3 separate regions of the Homo sapiens genome follow, and regions 2 and 3 are each linked to region 1. Evidence: promoter capture Hi-C in 16 types of primary human blood cells and fetal thymus (Javierre and others, 2016). All regions are on one chromosome and are shown on one strand. Each heading gives the region's core, a stretch centred on a gene start or on the middle of the fragment in contact. The rest is flanking DNA. Distances are from core to core; before and after follow the strand shown. Region 1 holds the start of EFR3A (EFR3 homolog A). Region 2 overlaps ADCY8 (adenylate cyclase 8). Region 3 has its middle 290 kb from the start of ADCY8.

What was found. Contacts are between HindIII fragments. The CHiCAGO score rates a contact against its expected background, and 5 or more counts as called.
Region 2: a contact is called between a fragment that was not itself captured here and the fragment with the promoter of EFR3A in region 1, in 1 of 17 cell types (endothelial precursors). The highest score is 5.9, in endothelial precursors.
Region 3: a contact is called between a fragment that was not itself captured here and the fragment with the promoter of EFR3A in region 1, in 1 of 17 cell types (endothelial precursors). The highest score is 5.7, in endothelial precursors.

What each region holds. Positions count from the first base shown.
Region 1 is chr8:131,901,026-131,905,879 of GRCh38, reverse strand. EFR3A (EFR3 homolog A) reads right to left here and starts at 1,787. Exons shown (of 23, transcript NM_015137.6): 1 at 1,558-1,787. The coding sequence starts at 1,567. RefSeq lists an enhancer at 791-840 and a silencer at 1,411-1,890. The HindIII fragment of the contact is 8,534 bases long and covers 1-4,854 here.
Region 2 is chr8:130,890,780-130,895,652 of GRCh38, reverse strand. All of the region lies in intron 7 of ADCY8 (adenylate cyclase 8), which reads left to right. The region is part of intron 2 of LOC124902068 (a long non-coding RNA gene); the gene reads right to left. Among named protein-coding and RNA genes, the nearest start is that of ADCY8, 150 kb to the left of the region's middle. The HindIII fragment of the contact is 1,367 bases long and covers 2,715-4,081 here.
Region 3 is chr8:130,748,351-130,752,913 of GRCh38, reverse strand. No RefSeq gene overlaps it. Among named protein-coding and RNA genes, the nearest start is that of ADCY8, 290 kb to the left of the region's middle. The HindIII fragment of the contact is 1,014 bases long and covers 2,128-3,141 here.

The sequences.
Region 1 (4,854 bases), core at 538-3,037:
AACTAAAAATTTTATTTCACAGGATAATTCTGGCATGTTACCAATAAATTCTACTTGAAGCCTCAACTTTCAATAGGTGCTTACCTCCTCCCCTTTGGTTTCTCAGAAAATAAAAGATTAGCATAGTGCTAGTCTCAGATATTCACTGAATAACGTGAACATGAATTTAGAAGTACTAAACTGGCAATAACAATGAAGATGATTGTAAATGATATTCCTCCAGCCAAAAGGAATAAAACAGAAATTTAAACTGGACATATTTACTGGATGCGAAGTCCAAGAACGTGAGTTAAGGACACACAGTAGTGTGTGAAGAAAACAAAATCCACAGTACCCACACATGTATGAGGAGTTAAAAGTAATCTCTACATCAGGACTATGTAAAGATTTGCCACAGGAAAATCTTTAAATCTCAAAAAGATATTTAAATATCTTTAATATCAATTTAAATTTAATATCCTTAAATATCAGGAAAATATCAATCTTTATAATATCAAGAAATAACTCATCTTTTCCCACCACTAGACGAAACGTGCATTGGAGACTGACCTGGAAATTCAGCGTCCCAGATGGCTACAAAACAAGGACAACTAGAAGTAGTTATGAATTCTAGGAAATATATTCACAAGTGTGTAAAGATTCTATAGTATTGAACACTTAGTCAAAGGAGTCCTACTTGAATTCTCAAATCAATGACAAAGTTGCTTCCTCTCTACCCAAGATCAGGAGCTTCCCTAGTTTGCACATATCCACATTGACCAGTGGCTATAAAGTCACACTGCGATTATCTGGGTCATTTTAAAATAGGTCATTAGCAGTACTTGTAGTATCGCGTCTGTCTAAAAATCCTCCAACACCGAGTGACTTTTAAACTTTGGGGTGCCTTGGTAACCCCAGGGACGCTTATTAGACATGCAGACTCCGGGGCCCAAGCTCCAGACTAATTCCATGGGAATAGGGCGGGTCCCGAAACCGGCATTTTTAATCATCTGCCCGGGTGAATCCGAAGTGTGGTCCAAAAGCCACAGTCGAGGTGCCTCTGCCTAACAAGCTCCACAGAAAGCTCCGACTTCAGCCGCCCCGACGGCGATACGGACGCCGAGTTAGGCTGTCGGGGGTCTGTCTGGCGGCCGCGGGAAGGGACTCGGGGCCGGCGCGTCCACTAGCGACGTCCGGCCCGAGGTGAGAAGGGACTGACAATGGTACCGCAGTTATTTTCAATATTTCCATAAAGTCCCACGAAGCCGTGTGGCCGTGGGAAAAGGGCTTTAACTTTGAAATCCCACGGGTCAGGTTACCACCAGCTCTGCCGCCTCCTAACAGCGCGTCCCCGCAGTTCCCTTAACGTTCGGGCCTCAGTTTCCCGATCCGTGCAACGGGCTCACGCCATCTCCGGAAGGCTAAGCCGAAACGAAACTAACTCCGCCGCTCGCAGACACTTCCTGGCTCTGCTCAGCGCGGCCCAGCCTCCCCAGCCGCCCGGGAGGAGTACCCGGCCCAAGCGCGTCGCGCAGGCAGTCGCCTCCCAACGCCCCCGGCCCTCGGCCGGCCACTCACGGGTAGGCATGGCGATCTCGACCGCGCTCGCCGCCGCACCGAGGCTCAGCGGGGCCGCGCAGGGAGCGCCGACGGCACCATGACGGCCGTTGCTGGGCCGCGGAGGCCGGAACGAGGCGAAGGGCGAAGGGCGAAGGGTGGAGGGAGCGGACGCGGACCCCGCGGTCACGCAACCAAGCGGGCGACAGCTACCGCCGCCAGCCCACTCCTCGCCGGGCGGCGCGACGGACGACCCACGCCCGTTACGTCAGCGCGCCGCCGCCGTCCCGGCCCCGCCCCCGCGGATGGCCGGGCTCGGCCCAGGATCCCTTGTCGAGCGGGTGGAATGGGTGGCTGGGGACAGCCACGTAGAACAACTTCGGGTGCCTTCTATTTTCCAAGCCTGGTGACCTGCGTGGCATTCGTTTTCCTTGATCTCTATTTGGAGTGCATCACTTTACGTTTGTGAGGATGATGGCTTTGAGCGCACGGAGTACCTGTGGGCTTTTTCTTTTGCAATCGGTTTAACTTGCAGTGCGTTTTGCATACTCTGAAAGCATGGTTTATTTGAGATGCACTAAGGTCATTTGGGGTGATGGCTGCTCATTTTTTGAGAGGGCAGAAAATGTAATTTCCTTTTGCTCTTGTGACTTTCAGAGCGACCTTATCCCTCAGGAGTTAGTCTCCTCTGGAGAGGGCAGCTCTGTGCACTTGGCTGAGCTACTCTTCTTGACTCTGGGTGTCATTAATAATTGAGGTATCTAATAGTCACCAAGCTGAGCAGACACCGGGAGCCAGAGAGCTGAGCAACGCACCTACACTATGCTAGGCGCCGTGGGCTGCGGACAGCCCATATGGAGATATAAAAGCCAACCGCAGAGGTTTAACACAGCCTTCCTCAAAGTGGGTCAAAGTGGTCCAGGATCCTTTTGTGCTTGGATCCCCTGGGGACTTGTTGAAAAGCAGATTCCTAGGTGCTGAGCCAAATCTACGAACACATATACAGATGATTTAAATACAATGATAATACTGAGAACCTTTGTCCTAAAAAGTAGGGCTAACCTTCTGATTAAGAAATGATATTGTGCAGTACTGGGAGGAGAAGATGAAGAACATGAAGATCAGAGCTAGGAAGCGCTGAGGAGAAATTAGTCTTGGCTTGAGGTGGACTTGGAAGAAAGCAGAATTTGAATTAGCAAAGCCTAGGGGAGTCCTAAAAGAGGCTGGGGAGAGGATGAAGGGTAATTTAGAGTGAGTCATGGCAGCTGGGGAGAGGAGAGTGTGTACTGTACCTATAAAAGAGACTGTCCAGCTGGGAACGGTGGCTCACGCCTGTAATCCTAACACTTTGGGAGACCGAGGTGGGCGGTGGGCAGATCACCTGAGGTCAGGAGTTCGAGATCAGCCTGGCCAACATGGCGAAACCCTGTCTGTACTGAAAATGCAAAAATTAGGCGGGGGTGGTGGCACATGCCTATATTCTCACTCAGCTACTTGGGAAGCTGAGGAAGGAGAATCGCTTGAACCCAGGAGACGGAGTTTGCAGTGAGCCGAGATCGGGCCACTGGACTCTAGCCTGGGCTACAGAGCAAGACTCCATCTCAAAAAAAAAAAAAAAAAAAGAGAGACTGTCCCTTGCTAACAGTAAAGACCAAACTACCTAGTGCTTATTCATGTTTTAATGCCCTGTTGCATATTTTATCACCTATAAAATCTTTCATGCTTCCAGTTTTCTCCCTAAGACTTTGGCATTATCTTGATTCCTCTCTGCTACAGCACTTTTCTCACTGCATCCTAAATAAACTGTCATGAGTGCTTGTGTTTTACCATGGGCCTATTTGCTTTTCAGAAAATGGCAAAAGCCATATTCTGTTCATGTTTATGTATCCTTGGCTGGCACACAGGTGGGGGCCAGAGTATATTAATTCAATATATAAATAAAGGATTTTATTCAAGAGTATGAAAACAAAAACAGGTAAATAAAACTGATAAACAACTTTACATTCAACCTTGGAATTTGTCTTTTAAGAAACTGTTCTGTGATTTTTACAAAAAGCATAACAGTAACATTAAATTATCAGAAGCAGGGCCTTGCAGGGGGAATGGTGTGGCAGAGAAACTGTGGAGGTAGGCAGCCAAATCGGAAGGCCCCAATACAGGAGAGAGTGTTAGGTGCTCAGTCTTGGTGGTGGCTGTGGAAAAAGAAAGAACTGAATCTTACTTTGGAAAAGAATCCCTGGATTTGTTGGCTGCTGACTTGGGAGCAATAGAGAGGCATCTGTTAGTTATGTAACTCCAAGGTTGGAACAAGGAAAGTGGTGGTGCTGGAGAGCAGTAGACCAGTCAGGAAGAAATGCTGTTTTAGGGAAGGGGTGTGAAGAAAGGTGTGAGTTTCTCCTTGACATATTGAGCTTGAGGTGGTATCAGAGGGAGACATCCGAGTGAATGAATCTGAAGGCAGCTGGGCAAGCCAGGATGAAGGTGGGCTGAGGGACCTCAGGGTGGGAGATTTGGAAATCTTTGGTCCCGGGACAGGAGCTGAAGCTGGGTGTCAAAGAGAGCCCTTTTAGGGAAGATGTGGAGGCAGTGAAGGCACAGAGAGACGAGATCCACAGGATACAGTGCCCCAGGAGCCAAGGGAAGACATGACTCCAAAAGGCAGACATCTCTGCTTACATTACCTTGAAAAAGATGCAGATCCCAAAGGCCCTGAAATTGTCCTGCACATACTGGTTGTTTTTTTGTTTGTTTGTTTTTCATTTCTTTCTGTTTTTAATCCTCTTGGTCTTTTGGTTTTGTATTGTTGCCAGAAATAAAAATCAGCAGCCAAAGATTCTGAGGAAGGACAGCTGAATGTCAGGAAAAATAGTGTCATAATGTTTTGATTATATATACAGTACCTACGTGGTTTTTTTTTTTTCCCTAGTTTGTGCACATTGGTAGCAATGTTACCATACTCTTTCCCTAACCTATCCTCTGGATCCGAGTTCTGCCGGTGTATCCACCACAGCCAGCCCCCGCTTCCTTTTTGATTTTTTTTTTTTTTTTTGAGACAGAGTTTCACTCTGTCGCCTAGGCTGGAGTGCAGTGGTGCAATCTCACCTCACTGCAGCCTCCACCTCCTGGGTTCAAACAATTCTCCTAACTCAGCCTCCCAAGTAACTGGAACTACAGGTGCATGCCACCACGCCTGGCTAATTTTTGTAATTTTAGTAGAGACGGGGTTTTGTCATGTTGGCCAGGCTGGTCTCAAACTCCCAGCCTCAAGTGATCTGCCTGTCTCGGCCTCTCAAAGTGCTGGGATGACAGGTGTGAGCC
Region 2 (4,873 bases), core at 2,149-4,648, 1.0 Mb after region 1:
CAATAAAACTCCCCAGGCTGTCCTGAGCTCTGAATCTGAGGATAGCTGCTGAGTTCAGCCAGGGAGAATCATTAGTGGGGTCTGCTTTTTCACTCTGTTTCAAAAGACAAGTGGATTTGAAGGCTTCCAGAGAACATTGAATGGATTAAGTAGGCAATTGGATCCATTTGCTTTGACTCATCATCCTTCCTTTCTCTGAAGTTCCTGGGGTAGACTAAGGAAGAAGAGATAAAGGTAGAGATAGGACTGAGGCTTATGTATAACCACAGACATGAAAAATACACATTTAGGTTGTCAAGCATACATCATGCAGCCACGGTTACTCCCATGGCTGATAACCTGCTAAAACTTTTCTACACAAACGAATTGGACTCTTCTTTTATGAGATATTGAGTCATTGTTTGGGGAGTCATAAAACTGAGGGCTGACAAACAAGACCCAATAAACGTATAGCACTTTAAATATGTCAAGGTGGAAATGTATGATATTTTAAATATGAGAAGATAGGTAGGAAGAGTAAAAGCAAAAATCTGGATTCTTTTCCCCTGACTTATTTCCTCAATTTGAAAACAAAGAAGTGGGATTTATTTTCTATCATTCTTGGTGTTCACTTTGCCAAGGACTGGGCTCAGATCCTTCAGTGTAAAATCTCTTCATTGAGCTACACCAGGATTGCTCTCATCTCTTTGCCACCAAGTATAACTTTTATTGTTTGACACAGCGCAGTTCATATCGAGGAAGGTTTTTCTTTCCAAGCAAAATTGCATTTGATGTGAGTGAATTTTTATTCCCATTTTTCAAGTAATTTTATATGTGCCCTGACCCACCAGTTTTCCTGCTCTACACAAACACAAGGGTCTTCCCATTCTAAGGTGACTGAATTCTAGCCAGAGAAAAGATAACGGATATTTTTGTTGGCCTGAACAGCCACGGTACTTATATATGTACTTCTTTTTACTTCCCCTTGTGTCAAAAGAGACTTACAGTGGCTTATCTTCAGTAAGCATACAGTATGGATGGAAGTTTTTGCAAGGTCCTCTTCTATCTCAAGGATTCCCAAACTACTGTTGTGAATTTCAGGTTATGCACCACTAGATTTGGCAGTGTCTCTTCCCACTGTGTGACTTTTATGTTACCTTTAGTCCCCTAAAGAATCATGTCACACTGTGAGATAGTAAGGACTTTGGATACATTGTATGAAGTATCACCCACTCTGGACTTCATGTCTGGGGAAAACTTAAACACAGGACCACTGATAAGGGATAAGCCTGGAAATAAACACGCGGGATAATAAAAAACCAGAAAAGCTAAACCAATTACACCATTCTTATAGAAATGTGTGTGTTGGGAAAGTTAGGGTAAAAGGAAGTAGCAGGCACAACCCCAAAGAGGTAGCAATGTAGCTCTAACATAGACCGTTTCTTCTTTTCCCAGTTTTGCCCTGACACAACTGGTGAAAAGTAAGAGATGCTGGATTCTTGAAGGTCAGTAATTTGTTGCTCCATTGGAATTAAATTAAGGAAAGCATCAATAACTACATGTGATTAGTAAATTGTATAAGAGTGGTCTGAAAAAACTCATACTGAGAAATTTAAAACACCAAACATGAGCAATTTATCAGCAACCCAAGATGTGTAAGTTTTTCATCTGCCTAAATTAAAAGTTACTTCTGAACCTTCAAAGCTAAACATTTAAATAATTCTATTTCAATTTTCTCAAAATTTCTATTAAGAAAACACAACCACAACCACACACACAAACATGCACACCCGCAAACACACACATAAACATGCACACCCCAAAACACACAAACATGCACACCCACAAACACACACACGCATAAACATGCACACACACAAACATGCACACCCACAAACACACACACATAAACATGCACACACACATAAACTTGCACACCCACAAACACACACATAAACATGCACACACACACATATAAACATGCACACACACACACACACACACACACACACACACCTTCTTCTCCCCATGGTATTGACACCTCTAAAAAATCCACATCTTTGATGTTCACAAGAAAATGGAGTAACTTAGGTCTGGATATATGTTTGTTTATTCATTTCCTGAGCTAAAATTCTCCAGGTTGCCAACCCAAGGTCATTCAGTCAATGGGATAGTGGTCATCTCACCAACTACAGCCAATGACATTTCAACCCAGCTAATTCAGTGCTAGGAGATATTTCAATTCACACCTACCCTGTGGCCCTATGAACAAACCACCAATGTTTCAGTTTCTCTCTCCCCTACTTGTGAGTCCCATGTGAATCCTGGCAGAAATCTTGCCTCCATTCCTAGATCGTACCTTATCCCAGCACTTACACCATCCCTAATCTCGAGATGAAGTCCGTGCTGGAGTTTGCATATCTGTTCCACACATTACTACGGATGTGATACTTAAAAAGCTAAAAATTCAATTCAATTGACAATTTGCCTCAAATCATGTGGCGTCAAAGTGGTCGGATCTAAATGAGTGTGCCAAGTTCTGTTTCCGCCAATTCTGCAGAAGTTTAACAACATTTTTTGATTTTATAAAAATGACCCAAGTGTGTAATGTCTCAGACATAATCACATTTCCCAAACTGAGATGAGAATCTTCTTTTTAAGGAGCTCAAAGAATAATATCAGAGGCAAGCATCTAGGATTAGCTAATAGATTGGTGGAATAGAGTCAGGCAAGCTTCTCAGGCAGGAGGGAATCATTGTCAGACCCCACTTGACCCAAGTTAACCTGGCTGGATTCCTTAGGCCAGCTCTAAGGGACAAAATCTAGAATGTTGGTAATTCCCTCTGTGAGGTCTCAGTCTTCTTATCCTGAGAACTCTGCCCAATCACGGGGAATTGTGGTTGAACCTGGAGAGAAGCCACAGCGGACCACTTGCCCACATCACATCTCAAGAGAACCAGGAGAGTACATCTGTGTCTAAAGCCATGACCCAGGAGTAGGTTGAACTGAAGCAAGAGGTGAGGCATTTAATGCCAGGCAAAGCACACCAGGAAGACAGCCCAGGATTGTGCTTGGATATCCTGGGACCTAAACCCCCAAATGATTAAACTGTTTTCATGCTCCAGTTTACCAATATTAGTTGAAAGGCCAAGAGTGAGGTTGTGGGGTTCCAATGAGTAGCAAATGAGTAAGTGCCTAGTGTGGTATCAGCCAGAGTCGGGGCACCTGCCTTGTCATTGTTTTATTTTCTTCATCATAGACTGAAATTTCAGGACACCAAGGAACAAAAGTCAATCAAAGGATGTCACAGATCCCTTCATCCCTATCAAAGTTAGCATCCAGACAATAGTCGGAAACTTCCAATTCTGCCTAAAGATGGGAAGCAACGATTTCCCAAATGACCTGAGCCCCAGACTGACATTGTTTACTCATAACTGGGAAACCAGACAACAGAGGGGTGCTGAAATCCTACAGTAGGCTTATAGAAATGTCTAGGCTATTATTGCAACAGAATGGACATTCTGACCCCTGTTATATCGTTTCCTGGGGCAGAAGCTATGAGACTATTATGAAAATTATTTAAACCGCTTTCCATAGCAGAATCCCACAGACCTTCTCCCACAATAAGATCTCGTTAAACATTCATTTGCTTTTCTTGGAAAACAGATTACAGTGACATAAATATTCAAAAAATAAAAGGAAAAGTAAGCATGATTTCTAACTAAAAAAGCATCAAACAGATCATTTGGCTGTACTGTTTCATTTTCTCTTAGTATAGACAAGAAAAGTTGCAACAATCTTAACTAAGATACCTTGCTTATGGGAAATGGTCCTATTCACTAGCACCTCCACTCCCATAAGAAGGAAAACTTGTTATAAGACAGGGTCTTGGAGATCTCATGTGGATATTTTATCAAGGGCTCCCCAAGTCAATGTTTACTCAAATACCACTTAGCATTTTCTTACTAGGAAAATATTTCATCTCATATCTCCCCATTCCCAGATTTGAGGGAAAAAAATTGTGCCATTTTCAAACATAACAAGCATTCTCCTCCCTGAGGTCCTCAATGCAAACCATTGTAGACTAGATCACCTTGAAGCTTTCCCAAGGTATGAGCTTTCTTAAGAAGAATAAATGATAAGTATTTAAGATGATGGGTATATTAACTAGGTTAATCTAATCATTGTACAACATATTCGTATATCATATCACAATGTACCACATAATTGTATATTATTATAATCTGTCAAAAAAAGAACACAAAATGACTCTTTTTAAAGTAGAAGCCTTCTCTTCCAGGGGTTGGGTTGGCATTTTAACAAACAGTAGAGAAAGAATCGCTGTAATGTGCACTGTTGAGGTACTCTTACTTAGGCTCACTGTTTTTCCTGTGTCTTGTAGGACATAGGAAGTTCATAAGAACTGAAAGGTGGAACCTCTGCCTTTTCCACAACCCAAAGGCTGCAGGCATCAAGTTTAAAATAGAGGTACAGAGGCTTCCAAGTTAGGCACAGAAACATGCTGCCACAGGGGTAATGGAAGCGTGCTCCCAGAATAGGTTGGGGAAACTACTGGCCCTACCTACTTCTGAATGAAGATTCCAGCCTGAAACTGAAAATAAGCAGAGTCTTTGGGAAAGGTTAGGACATCTCAGCATGAAAGACAGAAGCTGCACAGCTGTGCCTTGAGATTGCTGAGCCTGGCGTTCTCGCTAGGTCTTTTCCATATCAGCAATGAGTTGGCCCACACTGTGAGACCTCAGTCACAACTACTATAGCTAAATCTAAAGACTACCACATCTGCCTTGTCCAGGAGCTAATAAAGAATAAAGTGCTTTCACTAGTGACCTTAACCTCCTTCCACAACTGGCTCATGGAGAACACACAAACTGAA
Region 3 (4,563 bases), core at 1,385-3,884, 1.2 Mb after region 1:
GTGCAACACTCATCAGTTCTTGTCTGAACACATGCCTATATGCCAGACCTTGTTCCACATTGGAGGTCCATTGGGAACTGAAAGCAGCCCTGTCCCAAACATCCTAGTGATTGGAAGGCCACAAACACTCAAAACTAACTTACAAAATAAAGAAAGAAAATCACTTCTGATAATGGTAAGCACTTTGAAGAAGCATGAGAGAATGTGGGGGCTACCTTAAGTGGGAAAGTCATCCCTGGGGAGGTTATATTTTGAGCTCAAACCTGAAGGAACAAGCCATGATAACCACACCAGTCTCAAAATGAGGTGGTAGACAAGGATTCCTGATCAACTGCTGTACGAATCCGAGGTGGTGCTGTTATATGTTCCAAATGCTGGCATCTGGCCCACACCCCACCCTGACTCCTTGTCCCCACCCCCAGGGCCCCAGTGATCTGAGACTGGGGCACTGGGCATAGGGATAGGTGGGTGTTTACACAGCTTGATATGGTTTGGCTCTGTGTCCCCACTCAAATCTCATCTTGAATTGTAATCTCCACATGTCACGGAAGGGACATGGTGGGAGGTGACTGGATCATAAGGGCAGTTTCCCCCATGCTGTTATCGTGATAGTAAGTGAGTTCTTATGAGATCTGATGGTTTTATAAGGGTCTTCCCCCTTTGTTCTCTTTCTCTTTCCTGCTGCCTTGTGAAGAATGTACTTGCTTCTCCTTCCCCATCCTCCACAATTGTAAGTTTCCTGAGGCCTCCCCAGCCATGTGAAACTGTGAGTCAATTAAACCTCTTTCCTTTATAAATTATCCAGTCTCAGGTATTTCTTTACAGCAGTATGAGAACAGGCTAATACAGGAAATTGGTACTGGAAGTAGGCATTGCTATAAAGATAACCTAAAAATGTGGAAGCAAATTTGGAATTGGGTAATGGGCAGAGGTCAGAACAGTTTGGAGGTCTCAGAAGAAGACAGGAAGATGTGGGAAAATCTGGAACTTCTTAGAGACTTGTTGAATAGTTTTGACCAAAATGCTGACAGTGACATGGACAATGAAGTCCAGGCTGAGGTGGTCTTAGGTGGAGATGAAGAACTTATTGGGAATTGGAGCAAAGGTCACTCTTGCTATGCTTTAGCAAAGAGACTGGCAGCATTGTGTCCCTGCTGTAGAGAACTGTGAAATTTTGAACTTGAGAGAGTTGATTTAGGGTATCTGGCAGAAGAAATTTCTAAGCAGCAAAGTGTTGAAGAGGTGGCTTGGATGCTCTTAACAGTGTACAGCAATATGTGCTCGCAAAGAGATAGCTTGAAATTGGAACTTATGTTTAAAAGGGAAGCAGAGCATAAAGGTTTGGAAAATGTGCAGCTTGACCATGTGGTAGAAAAAAAACTCATTTTCTGTGGAGGAATTCAAGCTGGTGGCAGAAATTTGCATAAGCAACAAGGAGCCAAATGTTAATAGCCAAGTCAATGGGGAAAATGTCTCCAGGGCATGTCAGAGCCCTTCAGAGCAGCCCCTCCCATCACAGGCCCAGAGGCCTAGGTTTCATGGGCCATGCCCAGGTCCCCATTGCTCTGTGAAGCTTTGGGACTTGTTGCCCTGCATCCCAGTCACTCCAGTTCCAGCCATGGCTAAAAGGAGCCAAGGTACAGCCCAGACCACTGCTATCCACAGCCCAGTACTACATAGAAGCTTTGGCAGCTTGCATGTGGTGTTGGGCCTGTGGGTAGACAGAAGACAACAGTTGAGTTTTGGGAACTTCTGCTCAGATTTCAGAGGATGTATGGAAACACCTGAATGTCTAGGCAGAAGTCTGCTGCCGGGGCAGAGCCCTCATGGAGAACCTCTGTTAGGGCAGTGTGAAAGGGAAATGTGGGGTTGGAAGCCCCACACAGTTTCCCCACTGGGGCACTGCCTAGTGGAGCTGTGAGATGAGGTCTACCATCCTCCAGACCCCCGAAAGGTAGATCCACTGAAAGCTTGCACCATGCACTTAGAAAAGCCACAGGCACTCAATGCCAGGCTATACCCTGCAGACCCACAGGGGTGGAGCTTCCCAAGGCTGTGGGAGCCCACCCTTTGCATCAGCATGCCCTGGATGTGAGACACGGAGTCAAAGGAGATCATTTCAAAGCTTTAAGATTTAATGACTGCCCCACTGGGTTTCAGACTTGCATGGGGCCTGTGGCCCCTTCGTTTTGATCAACTTCTTCCATTTAGAACAGGAACATTCACCCAGTCCCTGTACCTCAATTGTATCTTGGCAGTAACTAACTTGTTTTTTATTTTACAGGCTCATAGGTGGAAGGAACTTGTCTTGTCTCAAAAGTTTTTGACTTTTAACTGAAAAGTCCAAGTCTAAAATGAGACTTTGGTGTTAATGCTAGAATGAGTTAAGACTTTGGGGGATAGCTGGGAAGGAATGATTGGTTTTGAAGTGTGAAAAGGACATGAGATTTGGGAGGGGCCAGAGGCAGAATGATATGGTTTGGATCTGTGTCCACACCCAAATCTTATCTCGAATTGTAATCCCCATGTGTGGAGGGGAGGAATTTGGTGAGAGGTGATTGGATCATGGGGGTGGTTTCCGCCATGCTGTTCTTTTGATAGTGAGTGAGTTCTCATGAGATCTGATGGTTTGATAAGGGGCTTGACAGTTCCCCTCTAATGCTTTCTCCTGCTGCCATGTAAGACACCCCTTGCTTCCCCCTCAACTTCCGCCTCAATTGTAAGTTTCCTGAGTCCTCCCCAGCTATGTGGAACTGTGAGTCAATTAAACCTCTTTTCTTCATAAATTACCCAGTTTCAGGTAGTGTCTTTATAGCAGTGTGAAAACGGATTAATACACAGCTCTACTAGATGGAGGCCCAAAAGGCACCTCCTGCACATGCTGCCCCTTCTCACCCAAGCAGCACCAGGCCTCTATAAAAAGGATTCATAACTAGGCTCCGCACAGGCCCACAGTTCTGAAGCTCAAGGAGCAGTGACAGCTCTGCTTCCTAATGCAGGGACAAGCAATCAGGAAATCTGCAGAGGCCTTCAGCACGGCAACAGCCTTGTCCAGGGGACACGCTTTCCTTTGCTGCCATCTTCTGGTCAGACTGGGGAACAGAAGCCTGAAGTGAGAGGTTCTTCTTCTCCAAGGAAGCTTAACTAACACCAGAACGACTTGGAGCTGTTCTAGGTGCTGGTGCTGGTGCTGGAGACAAAGCAGAGGACTAAACAGGCAAAAGTCCCTGCCCTCCTGGAGTTTATATTCCAGCTGGCTGTCTCAGATGCAGCTACATGAAGGCTGAGTCATTCCTGTTTGACGGAGGAAATGATGAGGTATAAAGAGGTAAAATATTGGCCCAGACCACACAGCTTGCAAGTGAAAAAGCAGAATTTGAAGAAAGTTTCCTTTGCGTAACACCCTCTTGCCTCCCTGTAAGCCTGTCAAGAGGATAGGAGGTTGGCTCCGAGTAGGTGTGATGGAGGCAAGTGGCAAAGCCTGAGAGAGTGACAATGTGCTGAAGGAAAGAGCCCTAGGCCAGGACTCTGGAGACCTGACTTCGGGTCTTGGCCCTAGCACTTTCTAGCTGTGTGACCTTAAACAAAACAGTAAGTGTCTCTGGTCATCTGCAAAATGGGCATAATGAGACCTATGTTACCTATGGTTTCTTCATCCCACCACCAACTTATATTAATACCTGTCATGTGTGGGTGGCCATCTACTAGAAGTTGGGGTCACAAGGCTGGTAAAGTCTTTATCCCCCTCTAGTCCTCTCTCCCGTGTTGAGACACAGCCTTCAGGCTTCCAGCACTCTACAGTTCCCCTCTTTCCTGCTCTTTACAGCTGTGGTCACTTTGGTCCCCCAAGTTTCTCCCATCTGGCTGCCTCCTCCTGTCCTCACATCTGTACTTGAAGTGGTCCCCATGGTCAGTCAATGTAACAACACTACCCTTCTCCCTCTCTTGCCCCAGCCAGAAGTTGTGAAATGGCAACACCAGCAAAACTATTCTAACTGAAACCTCCTATTTCCAAATGCCCCAGACCTTCTAATTACCTACGGGCTCTATCTGATATGTGGCCTCCTTTCTCTGTCCCTATTGCCATGGCACTCTTAAGCTGCTGACTTCTGTTTCATTTCTTCCCCAGATTTGCTTCTAGCAGAAGCTGTCTACCTTCTGTGTCTCCACTGCCTTACCATTGGACTCTCCAGGCTGACTTCTGTCCTCACCTCATCTGTGATGGTTAATACTGAGTGTCAACTTGATTGGACTGAAAGTATTGATCCTGGGTGTGTCTGTGAGAGTGTTGCCAAAAGAGATTAACATTTGAGTCAGTGGGCTGGGGAAGGCAGATCCACCCTTAATCTGGTGGGCACAATCTAACCAGCTGCCAGGGAATATAAAGCAGGAAGAAAAATGTGAAAAGGAGAGAGTGGCCTAGCCTCTCAGCCTACATCTTTCTCCCATGCTGGGTGCCTCCTGCCCTCGAACATCGGACTCCAAGTTCTTCACTTTGGGAACTCAGACTGGCTCTCCTTGCTCCTCAGCCTGCAGACAGCCTATTGTGGGACTTTGTGGTTG